Linked DNA regions of Homo sapiens: regions 2 and 3 are each linked to region 1. Evidence: promoter capture Hi-C in 16 types of primary human blood cells and fetal thymus (Javierre and others, 2016). All regions are on one chromosome and are shown on one strand. The core of a region is centred on a gene start or on the middle of the fragment in contact, and the rest is flanking DNA. Distances in the headings are between cores, read along the strand shown.

Evidence for each region. The method cuts DNA at HindIII sites, captures the fragments that hold promoters and counts their contacts. A CHiCAGO score of 5 or more calls a contact.
Region 2: a contact is called between the fragment with the promoter of DENND6B here and the fragment with the promoter of ARSA in region 1, in 4 of 17 cell types (neutrophils, M1 macrophages, naive CD8 T cells and 1 more). The highest score is 7.7, in neutrophils.
Region 3: the fragment with the promoter of PPP6R2 here is called in contact with the fragment with the promoter of ARSA in region 1 in 12 of 17 cell types (neutrophils, activated CD4 T cells, M0 macrophages and 9 more); the score reaches 8.8 in neutrophils.

The regions. Positions count from the first base shown.
Region 1 is chr22:50,626,902-50,629,484 of GRCh38, forward strand. It overlaps ARSA (arylsulfatase A), which reads right to left and starts at 1,251. Exons shown (of 8, transcript NM_000487.6): 1 at 655-1,251; 2 at 265-505; 3 at 1-151. The coding sequence starts at 878. RefSeq lists an enhancer at 1-211 and a silencer at 1,146-1,335. The HindIII fragment of the contact is 2,215 bases long and covers 1-1,680 here.
Region 2 is chr22:50,325,737-50,328,319 of GRCh38, forward strand. DENND6B (DENN domain containing 6B) reads right to left here and starts at 1,276. Exons shown (of 20, transcript NM_001001794.4): 1 at 1,076-1,276. The coding sequence starts at 1,252. RefSeq lists a silencer at 1,025-1,664. The HindIII fragment of the contact is 18,876 bases long and covers 1-2,256 here.
Region 3 is chr22:50,342,035-50,344,617 of GRCh38, forward strand. It overlaps PPP6R2 (protein phosphatase 6 regulatory subunit 2), which reads left to right and starts at 1,293. Exons shown (of 24, transcript NM_001242898.2): 1 at 1,293-1,516. RefSeq lists an enhancer at 1-647 and silencers at 744-913, 1,184-1,463, 1,474-1,553. The HindIII fragment of the contact is 9,108 bases long and covers 300-2,583 here.

The DNA.
Region 1 (2,583 bases), core at 1-2,500:
AAGCCATGTAGCGGGCCTCTAGTCCGGGCAGCCAGGGGGGCTGCGCCTCCACGGACAGGTTGGCCAACAGTGGGATGGGGACCAGGCCCTGGTCACAGCCACCGTCGCAAGGAGTGGCCGGCGGGAAGCAGGTCAGGTTCTGGCAGGGGCCCTGAGGCGGGCAGCTGCCGTGAGGGCTGGGCTGGCAGGTGGGGCTGCGGGAGCATCAAGGGCTGGGGGACTTTGGGAGGTGGGAGGGTGGCTGAGGGCCCGGGTGGTTCCTACCTGGTCGTGGGAGTACGGGATGCCTAGAAATCGATGGAAGCCCTGATGGGGGGGCAGGAAGGCCCCCTCAGGCCCCACCCCAAGGTGCCACTTGCCGGCCATTCCTGTGAGGTAGCCTCGGGCAGCCAGGACTTCGGCCACGGTCACCTCCTCCAGGGGCAGGCCCCCCCGGGAGCTGGGCACCAGGACGCCAGGGTACATGCCCATCCGAACCGGGAGCCGGCCGGTCAGGAGGGCGGCCCTGCGGGACAAGTCACAGAGTCCCTGAGACAGACAGAAATGTGGCCTTCCCTAGAGAGAGAGACAGACGTTTTTCCCGCCCCCCTGCAATCCATTGGGAGGAAAGGGATGGAGGGTCGGGGCGGGGAAGAGGCGCGGCCCCCTCTTTACCTAGAGGGTGTGCACAGAGACACAGGCACGTAGAAGTCTGTGAACCGCAGCCCTCCCGCCGCCAGCTGGTCCAGGTTGGGAGTGGTAGAGCTGGGGTGCCCATAGCAGCCCAGGTCCCCATAGCCGAGGTCGTCGGCAAAGATCAGCACGATGTTGGGCGGACGGGCAACGGCCAGGCCAGCAGCCAGGGCCAGGAGGAGGGACCGCGGTGCCCCCATGGACATGGGACCGAGGGGTCTGTCCCAAGAGAGGGAGGGCTACTTGGCTCCAGCAGGCTCTTTCCGATACCGCAGACCCAGGCGCCGCCCTTCCCTGAGACCCCGGACCCAAATACTCCCCGACCCTGACGGCCGCCTCCTGAAGCTCCAGAGGGCCGGGGCCCGACAGTACCGGGAGACCGCGGGCTGGGACGGAACTCCTCCAGGACCAGGGCACCTTCAGATTCTCGAGCGGAGATCTGATCCTCCTCGCCTAGCGGTCCGGGCTCAGGGTCGGGGGCGTAAGTCACTTGGCGCTGACCAGCGGAGTCGGGCCGGGGGGAAGGCGCTAGAGGGAGCCCAGGAGGAGCCGGTACCGGGCTGCGGGCGCTTCCGCCTCGGCCCCGCCCCGTGACCTGTGACCCTTGCGGGGCGGGGCCGGGGGCGGGGCCGGGGGCGGGGCCGGGGGCGGGCCGGGGCGAGGGGCGTTGCTGCGCGTGCTCGCTCCGAGGCCGCCGTGTGCGCCTGAGGCTGTTGGCTGCGGTCTTGAAACGGGCTCTGGGAGCTTCCTCTGCGCGGTCGGCCCTGGCTGAGGCGTCCCGGGCTGCGCGCGGGGCTCGGCGCTGCGCAGTGTCCGGTGTCCTCTCGGTCCGGAGCTTCTCCAGAGGAGGAGCGGCTCGTGCGCCCCCAGACCTCCGGTACTGGGAGACTCGGGCCCTCCTGTAAGAGACCTGAGCGCGGAGCGTTATGGGCACCCGGTGAATGAGCAAATGGCAGGGAAAACCGTGCAGCCCCATGGACTGCGGGCTCTTCCTTCACGACTAGCAAAAGCTTTGACACCCTTTCTCCTGCGTACGCGTGTCTGTGTGCGTGTAAGCTGTGGCTGGGTGCGGGGGGCTGTGTACGTGTCTGTGTGTGGTGTGTGTGGAGTGTTTGAGGCAGGTGTGTGGTGTTTCAGGTGTGTGTGCATGTGTGGTGTTTGAGGTGTGTGTGTGTGTTTTTGTAGTGTTTGAGGGATATGTGTGTGTGGTGTTTGAGGTGGGTGTGTGGTGTTTGAGGGGTGTGTGTGTGTGGTTGAGGGGTGTGTTTGGTGTTTGAGGGGTGTGTGTGGTTGAGGTGTATGGTGGTTGAGGTGTGTGTAGTGTTTGAGGCACGTATGTGTGTGGTGTTGGGTGTGTGTGGTGTTAGAGGTGTGGCGTATGTGTGTTTGCGGTGGTTGAGGTGTGTGTGTGTGTCTGGTGTTTAGGGTGTGTCTGTTGTGTGCGTGTGGTGGTGGAGGCGTGGTGTGGTGTGGAATGTGTGTCTGGGGTCCAGTCTGGCCTGTTGCAGGGTTACGCTGCTGGGGAAAAACTCATCTGAGGACAACGTGATTGGGTCCTCGCTCCCTCGTTGGGCAGCCTTGGACTTAACCTTTTTGATCTTGAAGGAAAACACAATATGTCACCTCCAAATATATTTCCTTGACACGGTTCAAGACAGTTACTCAGAAGGACTGGAAATAGAAGAATAGCTGAAAAGCTGTCTTTTGTGGGGGAGATTTGCATCTGTGGAGAGAATCTACACTGATGCGGCCAGGCCTCCTCTGAGGCCCTCCTTGCCTGATCTGGGAAGAGTAACAGTCTGACGCCTTTAAAGGCCTGAAGGGAACATTCACCATCTGTTCTCTCTCAGGGCTGCTACCTGTGAGGTTTCATCTGTAGAACAAGGCCACCTTTGCTAGCCAGGCCTCCTC
Region 2 (2,583 bases), core at 26-2,525, 300 kb before region 1:
GTACTCAGCCCCCACCCAGTGATGCTGTTTGAGGCTGTGCACCTGCTGGGGACCGTGTGTGGTGGGAGGGGCTCCAGAGAGTGCTAGAGTTAATGCTTTTCTGTTTAGAAGACTATATGCTTCTCATGGCCTCTTGGAGTTCAGCAGGGCCTTAGAAAGCATCTCCCAACCACAGAGACGCGCTGCCTGGCTTTCCTGATGATGATGATTTGGCCTGATCTTGGACACCTGCGGTAATAGAGAGCTCACTACCCCTCACGAGGTTCCTTGCGCCAGCGCGGGGAAGCCTCCCTCCATCTGCAGGTGGGCCTCCCCTGTGCTGGTCAGCTCCCTGGTGTGTGTTACACAGGACACAGAGAAGATCATCCTGCGGGGCCTCCCTGGAGGAAAGGAGGCTGCCTGTGTGGGTAGGTGAGTGGAGGCCTGCAGGCAGCAGAAAGACCACATCGAAAGCCCATGGGCACAGCCGATGAACAGACCCCCACGAGCAAGAACACCACAAGACGCAGGTGGAGGGACGGGGCCCATGGGGTCTGGATCTGATGCTAGGTGAACAAGGAGGCGCTGCAGGGTTTTAAGCAGGAGAGCCACAAAGGTTGAACTCTGGGGTGCAGCTGGGGTGGGGATGACATCAGTGATGGCAGCAAAGGAACGGATCCGAGACCTTTGTTGCAGAAGGAGCCGTCAGCCTCGCCTATGCCCAGAGATGGGATGCGGAGCGGAGGGTAAGCCCGGGACTCTGGCGGGAGCCACTGAGGGGATGAAGGTGTCACTGCTCCGGTGGGGAATGGAGGGGGGAGATGTGAGACATTTACTGGGAAAAATCGAAAGAGTACCACTTAGGTTATGCAAAATGCTCCATCCCAATGTGAAGACAAGATCCGACTCCGAGCAGCTCGCCTTCCCTCCTCGGCCTGGGGAGCGCTTCTGGAGCCCGGAGAAGAGGCCCCTCCAGGAGGCGGCGGCCGAAGGCCAGGGAGAGTGCGGGGCGGCCGAGGGCCCCAAGCGAGGCGGGACTGGCCCCGAGAGGCGCAGCCCTGCCCACCCGCCCGCGCCCGCGCTCGCGCCCGCTCACCTCCAGCGCCTGGCCCAGCTCCAGGTCGAAGGTGACCACGCACACACACTCCAGCCAGGCGGAGAAGCGCGCCCAGGGCGCCGCCGGGGTCCGCGCCGCGCGACCTGAAGACGTGGGTCCAGCCGCGCCCAGGCAGCCGCGAGCCCGGCGAGGCCCTGTGCCCAACAGCGCGTCCATGGCGGCGGCCGCGGGTTGCCGGGGAAACGCGGGCGGGGGCGGCGCGCGTCCGGGCCGCTCCTCAGAACAGTCGAGCGGCCGCCGCGGCCCAGTGCGGCTCCCGCGCGGCCGCGCGCCCCCTAGCGCCCGAGAAGCGCCAGCGGCCGGGCGCCGCCCAGGGCACCAGCGAGCCGGACGCGCGCGGGCCAGAGCGGCCGGAGCCCACTGGGGGACTTCCGGGGAAGCGGCCGAACTGGGGCCTTCCAGGGTCCACGCCGTCTGAGGCCCGAGAGAGTCGGTTCGGCCCCGGTGTTCGCGGATCCCGGCTCGCGGGAGCCTCGGGGCCAGGCCAGGGAGGCAGAGCAAGCTGCAGCCAGCCGGCGCCGGGCTCGTCGGGCTTCGCAGGTCCGGCCAGCCTACCTCGCCCCACCGCGCAGGGGCCAGCGGCGTCGCGGGCGTTTTCGTGGCGGAATGGCGTCCTCACTGAGCGCCCAGCCACCACCGCGGACTCGCGCTCGCTTCCTCTGGGGCCCGCGCGGCCTGGGGTCGTGTCTGACCGCGGGTGTCCACGCAACACCTCTGCAGTTTCACTTTCCGGGGGAATCGCGGGGACCTGGAGCGAACTCTTCCCTCCCTCGCGAGGGCCCCGGGCCCCGCTGTGGTCCACAGAGCACCTTGAGGCCCGGCGTGGAAGGGCGAGTTTGGGGCTGTCGGTAACTTAATGAGGCACGCCTTTGAGTCGTGGGCCTCATGACGTTTCCGTGGAAGGCGGGCCGCATATACTGTGGTGGTCCCTTCAGATTACCACGTGTTGGCCAGACGCGGTGGCTCACGCCTGTAATCTCACCGCTTTGGGAGGCCGAGGTGGGGTGGCGGATCACGAATCCAGGAAATCGAGACCAACCTGGTGAAACCCTGTCTCTACTGAAAATACAAAAATTAGCCGGGCGTGGTGGCTGGCGAGCGCCGTAACCCCAGCTATTGGGGAGGCTGAGGCAGGAGAATCGTTTGAACCCCGGAGGCGAAGCTTGCAGTGAGCTGAGATGTCGCCATTGCACTCCAGCCTGGGCGACAGAGTGAGACTCCATCTCAAAAATAAAAAAATAAAAGATTACCACGTGTTGTTCGGATCATCTGGCCTAGGTGTGGGGTAGGCTGTCCCATCTAGGTTTGTCACATAACAAAATCGCCTAATGACACATTTCTCAGGACATAGCTTCACCGTTGAGTAGCACATGGCCGTATTGTTTTTTGTTTGTTTGTTTCTGTTGTTTTTTTTGAGACAGAATGTTGCTCTTGTTGCCCAGGCAGGAGTGCAATGGCATGGTCTTGGCTCACTGCAACCTCTGCCT
Region 3 (2,583 bases), core at 43-2,542, 280 kb before region 1:
TTGCACTGGCTGAGCACAGGAGGGGTATCAAGATCAGGCAGAGTTGCACGTGCTCACGGCAGCAGGAGCATCTCCTGCATCTGGTGCCCCTGGCCCCAGTCCCCATTCCGTAGCTCAACTCAGCAGCACCTCCCGCTCCTGCAAAGGAGACCATGGTGAGGGCAGGAGAAGGGCATAGCCTGCTGAACGCAGGGTGTCTCTTCTCTAGGTTGTGAGGCTGAGGCTTTTTCACCCCCACTTCCTGGAAGTTCCCTCAACGGAACCTGCCAGAAATCTGCCCCTTAGGATGCTAGGGGAAAAGCTTTTGCTGGGGAAAGGCTCGCCAGAGGCATCTGCTATAAAACCGGCGAGGAGGGTGCTGCTGACCAGGGCAGGGGACAGGCGTCGGGGAAGCCCGGGGCCGCCAGCCGCAGGGCCAAGCCCTTTTCTCCTGCAACGTCTCTGGCGCCCTCTACCGACAAAGCCTAACAGCGCCAGCTGGCAAAAGAGAAATACCGAATATTTGAGCCGCCCAGATACGCTTTCGCAGAGAGCATCGGTGAATCCTGGGCAATACACTGACAACTGGAAAAAACGTTTAGAGATCCCTTAAGTGCTCCATGTTTTCCCAACATTTACCCACGGCTCGCTCTAACATCTGAAATAATAGTAATCATTTTTGAAATTATTTTGATGGAATTAAACAATTCCAGCACTTGTTAAATAGGCACATACTTAATTTGCAAAACGCCGTGCAAGAACCCGTAGCGCACCTGGAGAAAACTGTCTGGAGGCGGCTCAGGCACTCCGGGTCCAGGCAGGACGCGGGACGGGGAGGGGCCAGGCCTGGCGCCCGGGGCTGAGCCCGCTCCTGCTGCTCGGGGCGTCCACGCCCCGCGGCCTCTGGGAGGGGCCTGTGGCAGGAGGGAGGCCCGGGAGAACAGGCCCTTTCCTGGGCCACGGGGGAAACCCCTGCCCCAGGTGTGTGTCTCTCAAATGCTGCGTCGGGCCACGCGAGGATTGTTTTGTGGCTACAACAAAATTAACTATGCTTGCACAAAACTTTAGCCAATACCTCAAAGGGAAACGTAAAAGGGGAAAGACGCACTCTTACCCCACCCACTCCAAGGCAGCAGTCAGCACACCCAAGCCCTCGTGCTCCCACGCGGGTTTCACCGAGTGCCCCACTCCAGGGGGCCCGGAGAGCCGGCCCAGGTCCCGGCCCCGCCCACCCGCGCGGCCCCGCCCCCGGCCGCGAGCGTGCGCGCCCCAAGCGGAGACCCCGCCCCCGGAGCGCGTGCCCGTGCGCCGCCGCCGCCATTTTGGAGCGATCGGAGTGCCGCCCGCGGCCCCGAGTCGGTCTCGAGCCGCCGGCCGGCCGTGCCGGTGTCCGTAGGCGCTGCGCCCTCGGCCGGGCCCATGTGTGTGCGGCCCGCCCGAGGCCGCCCGGGCTTTGCCTCCACCAGCGCCCTGGCCTCCGCTCGGGCCTCCACACGGGCCTCCGAAGAGCTGCCGCGACGCCCGGCCCGCAGGGCAGGTGAGTGCGGCCGCCCGCCGCTCAGACCCGGCCCCCAGTCTGCCAGTGCCCCCCAAGTCACTTCTCCCCGAGTCAGTCAGTGCCCCCTCCAGATAGTTATCCCCCAGTCAGTCAGTTCCCCCTCCAGTCAGTTCCCCCCAGTCGGTGCCCCCGGAGTCAGTGCCCCCCCCAAGTCAGTCAGTGCCCCCTCCAGTCAGTTCCCCCCCAGTTAGTGCACCCTCTAGTCAGTTCCCCCAGTCAGTGCCCCCTCCAGTCAGTTCCCCCCCAGTCAGTTCCCCCCCAGTCAGTTTCCCCCCAGTCAGTTTCCCCCCAGTCAGTGCCCCCCAGTCAGTGCCCCCTCCAGTCAGTTCCCCCCCAGTCAGTGCCCCCTCCAGTCAGTTTCCCCCCAGTCAGTGCCCCCTCCAGTCAGTTCCCCCCCAGTCAGTGCCTCCTCCAGTCAGTTTCCCCCAGTCAGTGCCTCCTCCAGTCAGTTTCCCCCAGTCAGTGCCCCCTCCAGTCAGTTCCCCCCCCAGTCAGTGCCCCCTCTAGTCAGTTCCCCCCCAGTCAGTGCCCCCTCTAGTCAGTTCCCCCCCAGTCAGTGCCCCCTCTAGTCAGTTTCCCCCCAGTCAGTGCCTCCTCCAGTCAGTTTCCCCCAGTCAGTGCCTCCTCCAGTCAGTTTCCCCCAGTCAGTGCCTCCTCCAGTCAGTTTCCCCCAGTCAGTGCCCCCTCCAGTCAGTTCCCCCCAGTCAGTGCCCCCCCAGTCAGTTTCCCCCCAGTCAGTGCCCCCCAGTCAGTGCCCCCCAGTCAGTGCCCCCTCCAGTCAATTCCCCCCAGTCAGTGCCCCCTCCAGTCAGTTCCCCCCCCAGTCAGTGCCCCCTTCAGTCAGTTCCCCCAGTCAGTGCCCCCTCCAGTCAGTTCCCCCCCAGTCAGTGCCCCCCCAGTCAGTTTCCCCCCAGTCAGTGCCCCCCAGTCAGTGCCCCCTCCAGTCAATTCCCCCCAGTCAGTGCCCCCTCCAGTCAATTCCCCCCAGTCAGTGCCTCCTCCAGTCAGTTTCCCCCAGTCAGTGCCCCCTCCAGTCAGTTCCCCCC